Linked DNA regions of Homo sapiens: region 2 is linked to region 1. Evidence: promoter capture Hi-C in human tissues and cell types (Jung and others, 2019). All regions are on one chromosome and are shown on one strand. The core of a region is centred on a gene start or on the middle of the fragment in contact, and the rest is flanking DNA. Distances in the headings are between cores, read along the strand shown.

Region 1 (7,023 bases), core at 3,211-5,710:
TGGGGCTCTTTCTAAAACCATTAAAGAAAAAACGGAGGGGGAGGGGAGGCACGAATGCTCTGAAGAAAAGAGATTTTAAAAGACGTAGGCCGGGCGTGGTGGCTCACGCCTATAATCCCAGCACTTTGGGAGGCCGAGGCAGGTAGATCACCTGAGGTTGGGAGTTTGAGACCAGCTTGGCCAACATGGTGAAACCCCATCTCTACCAAAAATACGAAAATTAGCCGGACATGGTGGCTTAGTCCCAGCTCCTCAGGAGGCTGAGGCAGGAGAATCGCTTGAACCCGGGAGGAGGAGGAGGTTGCAGTGAGCCAAGATGGTACCACTGCACTTCAGCCTGGGTGACAGAGCGAGACTCCGTCTCAAAAAAAAAAAAAAGAAAAAAAAGAAGACGTAAATATAACAAGTCAAATGCAGGGAGAAGAGAGAGGGTGGGCTAGCTTTAGAGGCGGAAGGCAGAGACCCAAATGTGTGTGTGAACTTTGGTTAAAATTCAGGATCCAAAGCACCCAACTGGAAACACACTTCTGAGAATATGAGAGAAATTGATCACAGACTGTTAACTGTCATAACGGCACTGGGGTATGTTCAAAACGTCTCCATTGCTTTAGACACGCATATTTAAATATCGAGGTAAAATGACAGGTCTGCAATTCACTTTGGAAAACGTCCACAAAGAAAAGGGGCATATTTGAAGCAAATGTGGAGAACCCTGATGACTGCTAAAGCTTCCTAATGGATAAATGGAGGGGTATTAAATGAGTCACTCTACTTTTATGTCTTTTCAATTATTTCACAATATTAACTATTTTTAAAACTCAAATGTTATGTTTTGAAGATTCACAGTAACGATTCGTGAAACAAAACCACATTTTATGAGACTGGACCATTACAGGAGAGCATTCACTGTACAACACACAGAGAATAAGCCCAACTGGCATTGTGGAAACTTTTGACATGGAAACTAGAAGTTAAAAAATAATTCTGCTTCTTCAAATTGCACAGGGTTTAGGAGTTTGGAAGCGTTTACATCTTTTTTTCCTATGCACTTACTTAAATTATTCCCCAAGGTTTATCAAAGACCCAAGGGGGACTCTGCACAAATACCCAGCCATGCCGCGATGGCCTCGGCCATGTCAACTGCCCCACGGGTAGAGGGTGATATCCTGCCATGGCAGATGGGCACCAGTATTGGGAGAAGTGGCCATACCTTCATGGGGACCACTGAGGGAAGGGGGAGAGGGGGCAGGAGGAGTTAAATGGCTCTATAAACCACAGTGAAGTTCAGCTCTTCTCAAAGTCACAATCCTATTTAGACAACTGTCAAGTCTTAGATGTCACAGAGGTTACTTTGTGGCAAATCTGCGAGGGGTGTAACACACGGGAGCTTGAAAGTGTAGCAAAACCATAAGAGACAATATCCTGGGGGCAGGCAATCACTAGACACAGATCAAGACCTTTAAATGGTTAAAAAACCAAAAAACTAATTTGTTCATCAGTGAAGGTTCAAGGTCATTGGAGAATCCACCCATCTTAAACAACTAACTCAGTTCAAAAAACGAAAAAATAGTAACATTTCTAACTTCAGATTCTAAATAGCATTCACATACGTCACAGCATTTGTTTGTGATTGGTATAATGTAGAGCTATTGTGAACTGCTTTTTAAATTAGTAAGTTGCCTAATAAGGGTGTTACAATTGGAAGTAGCAAAACTATTTGTAATTTTTCTTTTCTTTTTTTTTTTTTTCTTGAGATGGAGTCTCCAAGTCTCACTCTGTCCCCAGGCTGGAGTGCAGTGGCGCAATCTTGGCTCACTGCAACCTCTGCCTCAAGGGTTCAAGCGATTCTCCTGCCTCAGCCTCCCGAGTAGCTGGGACTACAGGCGTGCACCACCACGCCCAGCTAATTTTTGTATTTTTAGTAGAGACGGGGTTTCATGATGTTGGCCAGGATGGTCTCGATCTCTTGACCTCGTGATCCGCCCGCCTTGGCCTCCCAATGTAATTTTTCTATAATTCAAATTGAATGTCTTATAATTCTAAATTAGAAAGTATAAGATTAAAAAGAGTCTCAATGAAGACTATTCCAAAAATTCCTTTTACACAAAATTAAAAGCCTTAATGTGTAGCATAAAATGGAACTGCACCACAGACTTATAATTACAGCACGTTTGTACAACCTGAAACTTGGGTTCATTCCCATCCTGCCATTAGCTATGAATTATCCTGCAGACACATTTATTCTTTCAACCACTGTCCTGTTCCAGAGGGTCCACTCCCTACCAGGCCCACACCAAGGCAACAATCTCCAAAAAGCAGCGAGTGACAGAAACGAGCCTGTGGATCATGAGGGCCAAGGTACGCTGAAAAATGAAATCGACAAGACAGCATCCCGGGGCAGTGCACACAGTACAGCAGTGAGCTGGGGTGGCTTCCTGAAGCCCCGCTGTCAATGACAAGTATGCGGGCAGGTGCTGGTCCAGTCCAGCCCTAACAGAGACTTCTTACTGTGGGTCTGGGTTATAGGGCTTGAAAGGGACTGCCCTGAGGAAGGCACCCAGAGAACCAGCTCGGAAGTCGGACCGATTGTCCTGATACTCACTCACTGCTGTGTGACCTTGGTGAAGTTCTCAACCTCTGTGAGCCTCGGCTGTCTGTCTTCACAAACACCACCAACCTCAGCAAGTGGAGTGAATTAAGTAACACGCAAAACACAACACAGAAAGCTTGACCTTCCTTAAAGCCTCTTCACTTTTTCTGGGCCTCCAACTTTTAAAACCGATAACCTGAAAAAATGTAGTGCTGTCAGTCCCATAAGCTGGGTTCCTCTACAAAGAGGAGCTGGAAGGTCCCAACTCACAAGGGGATGCCCGGTCCTTTCCCAAGAGGGGGCCTGGCCACCCAAGGCCTCTAGAGGCCAGCACCTGCTCCAGGACTGCGGCCCCTCCCAGGTGGAGGGGGAAAATCATTCTTCAAACTGCTGATGGCCCTCAGGGGTTGAAAAGTTGGTCAGACTCCGCCTTGTTGAAGCTTTCTAAATGACATCAGAAAAAAGACGCGACATTCGCAAGGCACAGAGCCAACAGCTCCAGCAGTGGGGGCCACCATCAACGGACCAAGGTGGGCCAGGGGGCCTTCCGGACCCCACAATTTGGGGCCGGTCTGCAGCAACGAGGGCAGCATCGGGAATGCGAGCCTCCTCGCCCGGCCGGGTAAACATAAGCCCAGAGCCCGGCGGGGCCTGCGCCGCCTGCGGCCCGGCTGGGGCCCAGCGGACAAAGGGGAGCAGGCGGTGCCCCGTCCCAGCGGCCAGGCCGGCCGAGAGAGCCAGGAGCCACGTGCCCGGTGGGAGCACGCCAAAAGCAGGAGAACACCTGACCGTTTTTTTGGCCCACCAAGGAGACCGCCTTCTACTCTGCATTTAAAAAGAAAAACAACGCGTTACCGCTTTAAGTTTTTTAGAACTTTTCCAGAGAAAGGCCGACTAGCAACAAGGGGTGCTACAGGAATCCACCTCGCCTCACCTCTCCTAGGAAATTGTAAAAGGAATTAGCACTTGAATGGGGAGGCCGGCGTGTCTGGAATGAGAACGAGCCGCGCACGCAGTTTGAGGGTTCCGGGGAGCCGCGTCCTCCCCTTTCCAGGCGACAGCCCTAACTACAGGAATTGGCCAAAATTCAGCATTTCCAGACTTTCCTTGGGAAAAGGGGCCGAAGAAGTGCCGGCAACAAGAAGGGCCACAACGGAGCGCGCCACAGACTCACCGCGGCTGGGGTCGGGACCGGCGCAGCCCCCTCCCCTCCCGCCCGTGCGCGCCCCGAGCCGGGCGCCCCGACCCGGCCTCCACCCGCTCAGGCGCTCAGGGTCAGGCCGGGCCGGGCTGCGGCGCCCCCATCCCCGCCCGGGCAGCGAGGCCGGGCCAAGCGGGGCGCTCCGGGCCTCGGGCCTACACGCGGCGGCCGCCTCGGCCCCGGCCCCAGCCCGCGGGCCCCGGGCGGGGGATGCGAGGACGCTGGGACGCGGGCCCGAGGCGCGGGAGGGGCCCAGGCCGCGCGGGGCGCCCCGACGACTCGCGGGGGCCGAGGAGGCCGGGGCTGCGCGTCCAACGCGGGGCCGAGAAAACGGCCGGCTCGGCCCCGCCGCCGCCGCTCCTCGAGCCCCCAAGCGCGGCCCCGGCTCGCCCGCCCCCGGCCCCCGCCGCCCCGACCCCGCGGCCCCCCGATCCCCGGCCCCTGCCGCCCGCGCCGGGCCCGCCAACCACGGGCAGGAGCGCGCGAACGGCCGGGCGGGCGCCCCGAGCGCCAGGACTCACCGGGGCCGGCTCCCGAGTACATGGTGGCGCCGCCGAGGGGCTCCGGGGCCGAGGGGCGGCCGCGCGCGCGCCACGGGCCCCGACGCCGCGAGCCGCGAGGGAGCCGCCGGCCGCACGATCCGCCCCGGCGCGGCCGCCTCGCCAAACAGGTTTACCCGACGCGGCCGGGGCGGCGGGCGGAGGCGGCGGCGGGAGCGGGAGCGGGAGGGGCGGGGGAGGAAGGAGGAGGGAGGGGGAGGGGAGGCGAGGCCGGCGGCGGGAGCGCGCTCGCGGGGGGAGCGGGGCTGGGCGCGCGGGCGGGGTCCGCGGCGGCGGCGGCGGCGGCGCCGGGTCTGGCGGGGCCTGGGGCGGGGACCCGGGGAGGGGCCCGGAGACCTCGCCGGGCGGTGGGAACCGCGGGCGGGAGCGGGGACGAGGGCCGAGGGCGGCGCGGCCCGTGTGGCGCGGGGGCGGGCGCGGCCCCGGGGACCCTTCACTGCCACCCAGAGAAGCCGCGTCTTCCCGACGGGGAGGAGCCGGGCCCCCCGGCTGTGCCGCCGGAGCCGGAGGGGAGGCCACGCGCCCCCGCTTTCCCCGCCGCCCCCCGGTGGGGGGCGCAGAACCCTCCCACCCTCAGCCCCTCGGCCCCCAGCCTGGCTCTTTAAGTTACTACAGAAACACGGAGGTCGGGAAGCTCCCTCCCAGCCCGGAGCTTGAACTTGAACGCGGCCGGCCGCTCGCGCAGGACCACACCGCCACCTCCCGGCGCGGCCCCAGAACCCAGATAATCCGTTTAAAGCACTGAGAAAATCTAAGAAGTTTTTAGTAAACTGTAGCTGGTATCAGGGATCAGATCAGCGGACACGCCCATTCCAGCAGTCAGGGGCCTGCTCGGACCGTCGTGCACCTCCGAGCGTTTCTGTCCGGTCCCTCTGGGTCCGTCTGGTTTTCGGAGGCTTTCCTGGAAAAGCCAGCCTGTGGCTACCTCCTTTCTCCCCTAAGTGATGGAGGATTAGAAGGCAGAGGTTGACCCACAATCTAAAGTGCCTGGTCGCCTTTTCCCAGATTTCCCGGAGCATTCCTTCACCCCGTGGCATCGGCTGTCTGCATATGGGTGCAAGGCCCTGTTCCGGGCGGAGAATAAACAGGAGTTCTGACTGACAGGAGCTCCGCAGCCAGCAGGGTGGTCACTAGTTCTCTGCAGTCTCGGAGGACAGCCCTGAAGAAGGGCAGGAGAACCAGCACTTCCTCCGAAAACTCAAAAGGACATCAGTCTTCACCAAGTTGCCGATACAAAACGTGCTCCTGAAATGTGTAGTAATGAACACCAGGAAACCTGGGTAGGAGTGTGCATGGCATTCTTCATCACCGCTTGGACTGCATGGCACTGAATACCCACGGAGAGCAGGATGGAGAAACAGTGTGCTCATATTCACAGGATGGAATCTAGCCATTCACAAAAATTCCAAAACAGGCAAAATTAAACTGCATTCTTTAGGGAAGCATCATTAAGTAGTAAATAATTGACAGAAGGGCAAGAAGGTGCTTACTCTAAGTGTCAGAATGGTGGATACAGCTGGGGGTGAGAGGGCTGTGACCACAGCAGGGCCCCTGGGGGATTTGGGGGTGCCAGGCCTGTTCCTTCCTGCAATGGTGCCCTTTGGCAGCCATCCCTTAAACTGCACTTTTACTTTATATGCTTTTCTGTACCTTTACTGTAGTATTTCACGGAAATTTTTAAATAATCATGAATGTTACCACTTTCCTATTTATGAACCATGCAACCTCATCAATCTTCCCAGTTCGCAGATGCCCACCCTCTCTCTCTGCCCCTGTCTCCTTCACATATCCCCAAAACTCGTTTTGGCCCGAAATCCCTGAGGCCCAACTGCCCTGCTGTCAGCGACTGCACGCCTCAGCAAAGGCCCAGAAGGCTCTGTCATCACTGGCTGCCCTCAGCCCGCCTTCAGCTCCTTTGAGCGCTGTGTTGGGGAACTTTGTTGCAAGGATTTCGTTCCAGAAGGCAAGATAATGTCTCTGAGGGCTTCATTGTGTCACTTCTCTTTGGATGGCGGACACCGTGGCCCTCTGCTGGCGGAGGGGTGCCATTGCTGCCTGCCCCATCTCTATCCCCAGGGCCCATGCAGTCACTGGGTTCGCCCTCTGGGGCACGGGGTTCCCTCTGCTCTTTTCCTAGATAAGCCCATTCTCTGCAGGTCTCTACCCTCCACACCTGTGTTCAGGAATTCAGCCCGCTTCCTGCAGCCCCATCCCTACCCTCCTCCCAACCTGCTTTTCTTCTGGTGTCCCTCACTCAGCATGGCTAACAGATCCACCACCCAACGGAGCTGAGAACTGCAGTCCCCTCTGCCTGTTACCTCTCCTGCCATTAGTGAACCTGCTTAACTCATCTGACTGTGCGTCTCGGTGCTTGCTGTGACATGTCTCCAGCCCTTGCTGCTCTGTCCCCCAGACCCACGTCCCACACCCGGATGGTGACTCAGCCGACTCTGGGTCTTCTGGACCCAGTGCTTCTCCCTGATACAATTCCTTCCTCTGTGTTTTAGGATCCTGATGCTTTGATAAGACCGTGGGCTCTAATCACAGCCAGGGACATTTGCAGCAGCCTGGCCTGCAGCTCTGCACACTGGGTGCACTCAGTCTAAAGCACCAGCTCCCCATGAGAGAGAAAGAAGGGGTGAGGGGAAGTACAGAGAAAGCTCCTGAGGCCA
Region 2 (7,023 bases), core at 2,647-5,146, 530 kb after region 1:
AGGCATGGTGGTGTGTACCTGTAGTCCCAGCTACTCGGGAGGCTGAGGCAGAAGAATCACTTGAACCTGGGAGGTGGAGGTTGCAGTGAGCCAAGATTGTGCCACTGCACTCCAGCCTGGGCCATAGAGCAAGACCCCGTCTAAACAAACAAACAGACAAACAAACACAGAGGTGAAGTGACTTGTCCGGGAAGGCTGGCGGCCGAGCTGGTCAGCACTTGGAGAGTCTGGCTGCCCCTCTGGGCTCCCCACCCTGAACTCAGTTTCATGTGTGTGGACCGCAACTGACTTTTGTGTCTTAATTTGCATAAGGAACTAGTGGGCTGGAGGAAGGTGAGAACAGGAACACTGCCTCCTGTACTTTCGTTCTAGCTGGGGGAAATTTATGCTTGACCACAAAATACATCCACATCGTATCATTTTGGTAATCAAGAATCTTTCTGAAGAACATGGCTTTTTCAAAGTTCGTATCTCTTCTAACCATTTCTCTGCTACTAAAAGTGGTATATTTTTCATGTATTTAAGAAAGTTTTAGCACTCAGACTCTCTTTCTCTTTGTTAGGGATGTAAAGAATCATTTAAACTATGAACACAGAGTCTTTAATAGTGAAGAATTTCTCAAAACCAGGGCTCCAGGGGACCATCAGTTTTATAAGCAGGTGAGAGCTGTGGGATTTGGGTGTGCCTGTGTGTGTTCAATCCATTATCCTTTTCTGTATTTAAATACTTTTCAAAATAAGTGTTCTCAAGTGTATCAACTTTTCCAAAAAGTTTGTTTTAGCATGGTTCCTTTTGACCATGTGGCTCTCCCTCTTTTTTAAAAAAATCAGCTTTTTAAGAGTATAATTTACTTGTGGCCAGGCACAGTGGCTCATGCCTGTAATCCCAGCACTTTGGGAGGCCGAGGCGGGCAGATCACCTGAGGTCAGGAGTTCGAGACCAGCCTGGCCAACATGGTGAAATCCCATCTCTACTAAAAATACAAAAATTAGCTGGGTGTGGTAGTGCACGCCTGTAATCCCAGCTACTCAGGAGGCTAAGGCAGGAGAATTGCTTGAACCCAGGGGGTGGAGGTTGCTGTGAGCCAAGATGGTGTCACTATATTCCAGCCTGGGCGACAGAGCAAGACTCCGTCTCAAAAAAAAAAAAAAAAAAAAAGTATAATTTACTTAAAATATGGCCATTTTAAGTGTGTGGTTTGATGGATTTTGACAAATGTACATATCTGTATCACCACTTCCTCAACCTGGACATAGAACATTTCCATGGCTCCAGTCTGCCCCATCCCTCCCCAGGTCCTGGCAACTCTACCTGTGTGCATCCCCGTAGACGGCTGGCCCATCTCAGAGTCTTGCGCTGTGCAGTCCTGCGGTCTGCGCTCTGTCTGCCTCTCTCCCTCAGCCTCCTGCCTCGGACCGAGCTGGGCTACTGTGTGTCTCAGCGGCGGCTCCTTTTTTTGCTAGGAATGTCCCGTGGTTGGGACAGAGTGCGCTTTGTTCTTCTGTCCACCTGCTACTGAGCATTGGGGTTGTTTCCATTTGTGACTATTACAAAAAAATAATCACCTTGGGGGCTTTGCCCTGGCAGGCGATTGAAGCTGCCTGAAGAGCCCCTTGATCCTTTGGGGGTTTGTTTTTACAGCTTTGGGGTGGGCCGAGAACAGCCTTTCTCTAGGGTTGGTTTATAGCCTAACCCATCTGCTAAGTGACGTACCCTGCCCCGGGTGTCTCCTGAATGGCTGAGGGGTCAGCCAGGGCCCTCCGCCTTGGCTGTTGGGAGCGTGACTGGCTCTCTGCCCTGTGAGCTTGGAGAGTTGTTTTGCTTACAGCTTCCCAGTCGTTCTTTGGTTTGATGCGGTTTCGCCCTATGACTGGGCAGCGGGGTATTCAGCAAAGGCTTAGGGAGACCCTGATGCAGGCTCCGGGAGCTCCCTGTATCATTCCCTCCTCTCCAGAGCCCTGCCCGAGGCTTCCAGCTGCCTCAGCCTCTGTGAGCTCCCTCCATGCCCTCAGTGCTGGAGCTGCGCCAGCCACGAGCCTGCCTCTCGTCCAGCATCTGAAAACAGTCGTTTCCTCTTTTTTATCGAGTTTCCTCATAGTTTATGTCAGGAGGATATGTCTGAGCCTTGTCTACTGCCTTATGGCCAGAAGCTTGTGTCCACCTCTTGTAGCTATGATGAAATACTCTTTTGTTCATGGGGTGGGTATGTGGGACCCAGTGTGTGAATGTATGGCAGCCATTTCTTCTCCTGTGTGAATGAGGAAGAGCAGAAAACCCTCGAGTTCATTCACTCAGTCAATATCCACTGGGTGTGAGTGGTGATGCCCAGTTCTGTGCCAGGAAGGCTCAGGGGCTTTGGAGCAGGGACCTGGGGAGTCGGCACAGCCCAGTGACCAGCCCCTCTCTCTTTTCCAGGTCTTAGACACCTACATGTTCCATTCTTTTCTTAAAGCCCGGCTCAATAGGAGGATGGACGCCTTTGCTCAGATGGACCTCGACACCCAGTCGGAGGAGGACAGGTGCTTCACTGTTGTGTTTTGGATCTGCAGCTCTTTAGGAATCACAGTGTTCAAGGACCTCAGTTTTATTCGAATGAGTAAATGAGAAAGTCAATGGGAAATACCTTGTGCTTAGAAACTCATGATGAACTGGGCGACAGCTAGGAAGCTCTTCTCTCCATGTTTCTACTTCTTCTTTTTTTTTTTTTTTTTGAGACGGAGTCTCGCTCTTGTTGCCCAGGCTGGAGTGCAGTAGCTCAATCTCCGCTCACTGCAACCTCCGCCTCCTGGGTTCAAGCAATTCTCCTGCCTCAGCCTCCTGAGTAGCTGGGATTACAGGCACCCACCATCATGCCCGGCTAATTTTTGTATTTTTGTAAAGATGGGGTTTCGCCATGTTGGCCAGGCTGGTCTTGAACTCCTGACCTCAGGTGATCCACCCACCTCAGCCTCCCAAAGTGCTGGGATTACAGGCATGAGCCACCACTCCTGGCCTGTTTCTACTTCTTGAGGGAACACTTGAAACGTGCCCGATGTTAGCATGCTCCCCGTGGTTTGTGGCCCTTGCGTCTTCCTCGGTGCTGCTCTCTCTCATCTCCTTTCTCTCTTCCCACCTCCCCCCATCCTCAAAGCCTGCTGTTTTCCATCTCTTCCTTGCTCTCTTCCTGAGCCCCCTCCAACATGTGTCTGCTGCAGTCAGGGCCCCTGTTGGCTTATGCTGGTTTCTTCTGGGCTTGTGTCTGGGTCCCCCTGAGGCTGCACTTGGTGAGATTTGGGCAACATGTTCTTACCAGTCTGTTTTCCACTGGTGTCCAAGAGTGTCATGTGCTCTTCATCACACTGGGAAAAATGCTTAGTTTAGGCTTATTCTTCAATCATTATTGTGTCTATAAACTAACGCGTTGCTTTTTCGTACCCCAGAATAAATGGAATGCTTCTAAGTCCAAGGAGACCGACCGTTGAGAAAAGAGCCTCCCGGAAGTCCTCGCACCTGCATGTCACCCACAGGCGCATGGTGGTCAGCATGCCCAACCTGCAGGACATTGCCATGCCTGAGCTGGCACCCAGGAACTCCTCGCTCCGGCTGACGGACACCGCAGGCTGTAGGGGCAGCAGCGCAGGTGAGGGCTGCCCCCCACTGTGGTGCTGTGTGTCGGTCCCACCATTCCTGCACCTGCAAGTCATTGAGCAAAACTGGGACTTGTTTCAGGAGAGACGAGTGGGCTTGTTTTAGCAGCTGAGTTATTTGAAATGTTTAGAATATTCATTTTGCCAAGGTATGCCTTCTAGAAAATTATTTCTCGTCTGTATTTTCTGCCACCCAGTGTCACCGCTAAAGATAACGGGGGCTCGGCATGGTTCGGCATCCTTCACAGGTGTAGGCTGTGCCTGTCTCTGTATGTGTGGATTGCATGTGTATAAATACATATTTACACATCCACACGTGTGATAGGAGGCAGGGAGCGCACCAGGCACTTTCTAGAGCCGGAGCTGTGAAGGAGCCCAGTGCCCCTGCCCTCGTGGAGCTGGCATTCCAGGGCCAGGGCTAAAGTGAGCAGGGCCAGGGATGGGGAGGGGGCTTGACTGTGGTTGGGACATTTCCACAGAGATGGGACTGCATGGAGAGGCCAAGCCCAGCCTCGCGCCTTCTTGGGGAGGTACGTCCTGTCCCTAGTGAATGGGAGAAACTGTCGGGAGGCCGGGGCCTTGACCCCCAGGGCACCTGCTGCTGCTGTCTCGGGCCCAGGCAGCAAGTACCATGTGGCTCCTCCTGATCACTGTGCTGGGACCCCAGGAGCTGCACGAGTGACACCTTGATGACCCCGAGGGCTATGGTCTAGCAGGGGCAGTGCGCATGAATGACAGACCACGTTGTCTTTATCGGCTGAGCGCTGGAGCTCAGAGCGAACATTCTGGAGGCCACTGTGGGGTCCGAGCCTTCTGCCCCTGGCTGTGTGACCCTGGGCAGGCAGCTTCACCTCCCTGGTTCTGCAGTTCCTCTTCTGAACATCTGTCAGTCTGCCGCTGGCAGGTGCCCTGTGCCCACTCACCCTGGGAGCATGCTCCGCTTTCCCTGCCCTCGGAACCTTCCCCTGGAGCCCCCATGACCCTCCTCCTGCTCTCTTGGTCCTCTGGAGCTCCTGGGAGAAGAGGAAACCCAGCACCCAGTTGGTGCCTAGCTCCTGGAGGGCCCTTAGGTAACATCTATAGAAGGAGTTGGTGTGAGACACACACCTGGTTGAAGTGTGGCTCAGGCACTTAGTCGCTGTGTACCTGGGACAAGTAACCCAGGCTGTGGAAGCCTCGGTTTCCGCATCTGTAGAACGGGACTATAGTAATAATACCCCTGTCCTGAGTTGTCTTTAAGGTAAATGAAACAATGGTTCTAAAGGGCTTCATCCTGCCTAGCAGGTACATCTTGGCTTAGGCTATTAGCTTCATCCTCAAATAAAGCCTCAGTACCCGATACCTCAGTAGTATTACTAGTTGTAGCAAACCAAATTGTTCAGTGAATGCTAGCTGCTATTCTCCTTGGGGTACCATGGAAGCAAAGTGAGGGTTCTCTCATGCCTCCCAGGGGGGTGGGTGTGTGGAGCTTTCTGGAGGGAGCACACCCATTCTCATTTTATTTTGCATCCAGAGAAACATTGTCCTTGACAAGATGATGTGACAGGGACACGTGTTCATTTGGAAGGTCTGTGCTAATGGTCTCCTTTTCCCCCTGAATGTTTTAGTTCTGAATGTCACGCCGAAGTCCCCGTATACATTCAAGATTCCCGAAATCCACTTTCCGCTGGAGAGCAAGTGCGTGCAGGCATACCATGCCCACTTTGTCTCCATGCTGAGCGAGGCCATGTGCTTTCTGGCCCCCGATAACTCTCTGCTCCTGGCCCGCTATTTGTACCTCCGAGGGCTCGTTTATCTGATGCAGGGACAGCTGCTGAACGCCCTCTTGGACTTCCAGAATCTGTATAAAACAGACATACGGATCTTTCCCACTGATTTGGTGAAGAGGACGGTGGAATCCATGTCTGCCCCTGAGTGGGAGGGGGCTGAGCAGGCGCCGGAGCTGATGAGGCTCATCAGCGAGATCCTGGACAAGCCGCACGAGGCCTCGAAGCTGGACGACCACGTGAAGAAGTTCAAGCTGCCCAAGAAGCACATGCAGCTGGGCGACTTCATGAAGCGGGTCCAGGAGTCAGGGATCGTGAAGGACGCCAGCATCATACACCGGCTGTTCGAGGCCTTGACTGTAGGTAAGAGGAGGCCTGGCACCATCACAGATTTTATTATTTAGAGACAGGGTCTGGCTCTGTCGCCCAGGCTGGAGTGGACTGGCAATCACAGCTCACTGCAACCTCCACCTCCTGGGCTCAAGCAGTCCTCCCACCTCAGCCTCCCGAGTAGCTGGGACTAGACTACAGGTACGCGACACCGTGCCCGGCTAATTTTAGTATTTTTTGTAGAGACAGGGTTTCAGTATGTTGCCCAGGCTGGTCTCGAACTCCTGGGCTCAAGTGATCCACCCACCTCGGCCTCCCTAAGTGCTGAGATTACAAGAGTGAGCCTCTGCGTTGGGCCCATATATTTTATTTTACTTTATTTATGAGATGGAGTCTTGCTCTGTCTCCCAGGTTGGAGTACAATGGCACGATCTTGGCTCACTGCAACCTCTGCCTCCTGGGTTCAAGTGATTCTCCTGTCTTAACCTCCTGAGTAGCTGGGATTATAGGCATGCGCCTCCACACCCAGCTAATTTTTGTATTTTTGTAGAGACAGGGTTTCACCATGTTGGCCAGGCTGGTCTCAAACTCCTGACCTCAAGGTGATCCACCTGTCTTGGCCCCCCAAAGTGCTGGGATTACAGGCGTGAGCCACCGCGCCTGACCCTATATATTTTAAATGCTTAACGACAGTGGTCAGGTAACAGCAGTGGTGAGGTAAGCCGCCAGCAGGTGGCAGGCAAGACCGCTGCAGCACCGTGGTCTTTACAGTTGCCCTGGGCACTTACCTGGGAACGGGTGTGGTTGGCGGGGCCCTTAGGCAATGTGCCTGTCCTGAGATCTTACACAGCCTGTCTCCAGGCTGGGCTCTGAGCTGCGCTCTGTGTGGGTGGAAGGGACCTAGAATTGCTGATGGGAGATGAAGACGCTCCTTGTCCGGGAGAATTGCTCAGCATCTGCACAGAACCATGGCCTCGGCTGAAATGCTGCAGACACATGCAAAAGCGGGGACGTGGGACAAATGCCAGGGTCCTGCGCCCAGACTAACACCTGCTGCGTTTCCCATGGAGTGCAGTGGGCTTGTGCTTAGACCCAGCGGGGGCTCCGTGTGCCTCTCTCCCTCCCTCCCCAGAGGGAGCCACTGTCCGAAGCTGGAGCTTTCTTTTCTGGCCATGTTTTTATGCATTTACTACAAATGGATGCACCTGACGCGGTACCTAGTGGTCGTGAGTTTAAACACAAAAATGGGAGAATGGGAATTGTCACACCGTATGTCTGAGTTTGCACGTGCTGTTTTACTC

What was found. The method cuts DNA at HindIII sites, captures the fragments that hold promoters and counts their contacts. A contact is called where the count stands out against the background at its distance.
Region 2: a fragment that was not itself captured here is called in contact with the fragment with the promoter of AGO2 in region 1 in 1 of the 25 tissues and cell types used here (mesenchymal stem cells).

Annotation. Positions count from the first base shown.
Region 1 is chr8:140,631,173-140,638,195 of GRCh38, forward strand. AGO2 (argonaute RISC catalytic component 2) reads right to left here and starts at 4,461. Exons shown (of 19, transcript NM_012154.5): 1 at 4,313-4,461. The coding sequence starts at 4,334. It overlaps ERICD (E2F1-regulated inhibitor of cell death), which reads left to right and starts at 3,063. Exons shown (of 1, transcript NR_170171.1): 1 at 3,063-7,023. RefSeq lists enhancers at 1,932-2,699, 2,700-3,466 and silencers at 3,273-3,322, 3,806-3,975, 4,626-5,025. The HindIII fragment of the contact is 25,430 bases long and covers 2,879-7,023 here.
Region 2 is chr8:141,162,771-141,169,793 of GRCh38, forward strand. DENND3 (DENN domain containing 3) reads left to right here. Exons shown (of 23, transcript NM_001352890.3): 10 at 563-659; 11 at 2,416-2,519; 12 at 3,420-3,619; 13 at 5,234-5,755. Among named protein-coding and RNA genes, the nearest start is that of DENND3-AS1, 36 kb to the left of the region's middle. RefSeq lists a silencer at 1,880-2,174. The HindIII fragment of the contact is 7,482 bases long and covers 156-7,023 here.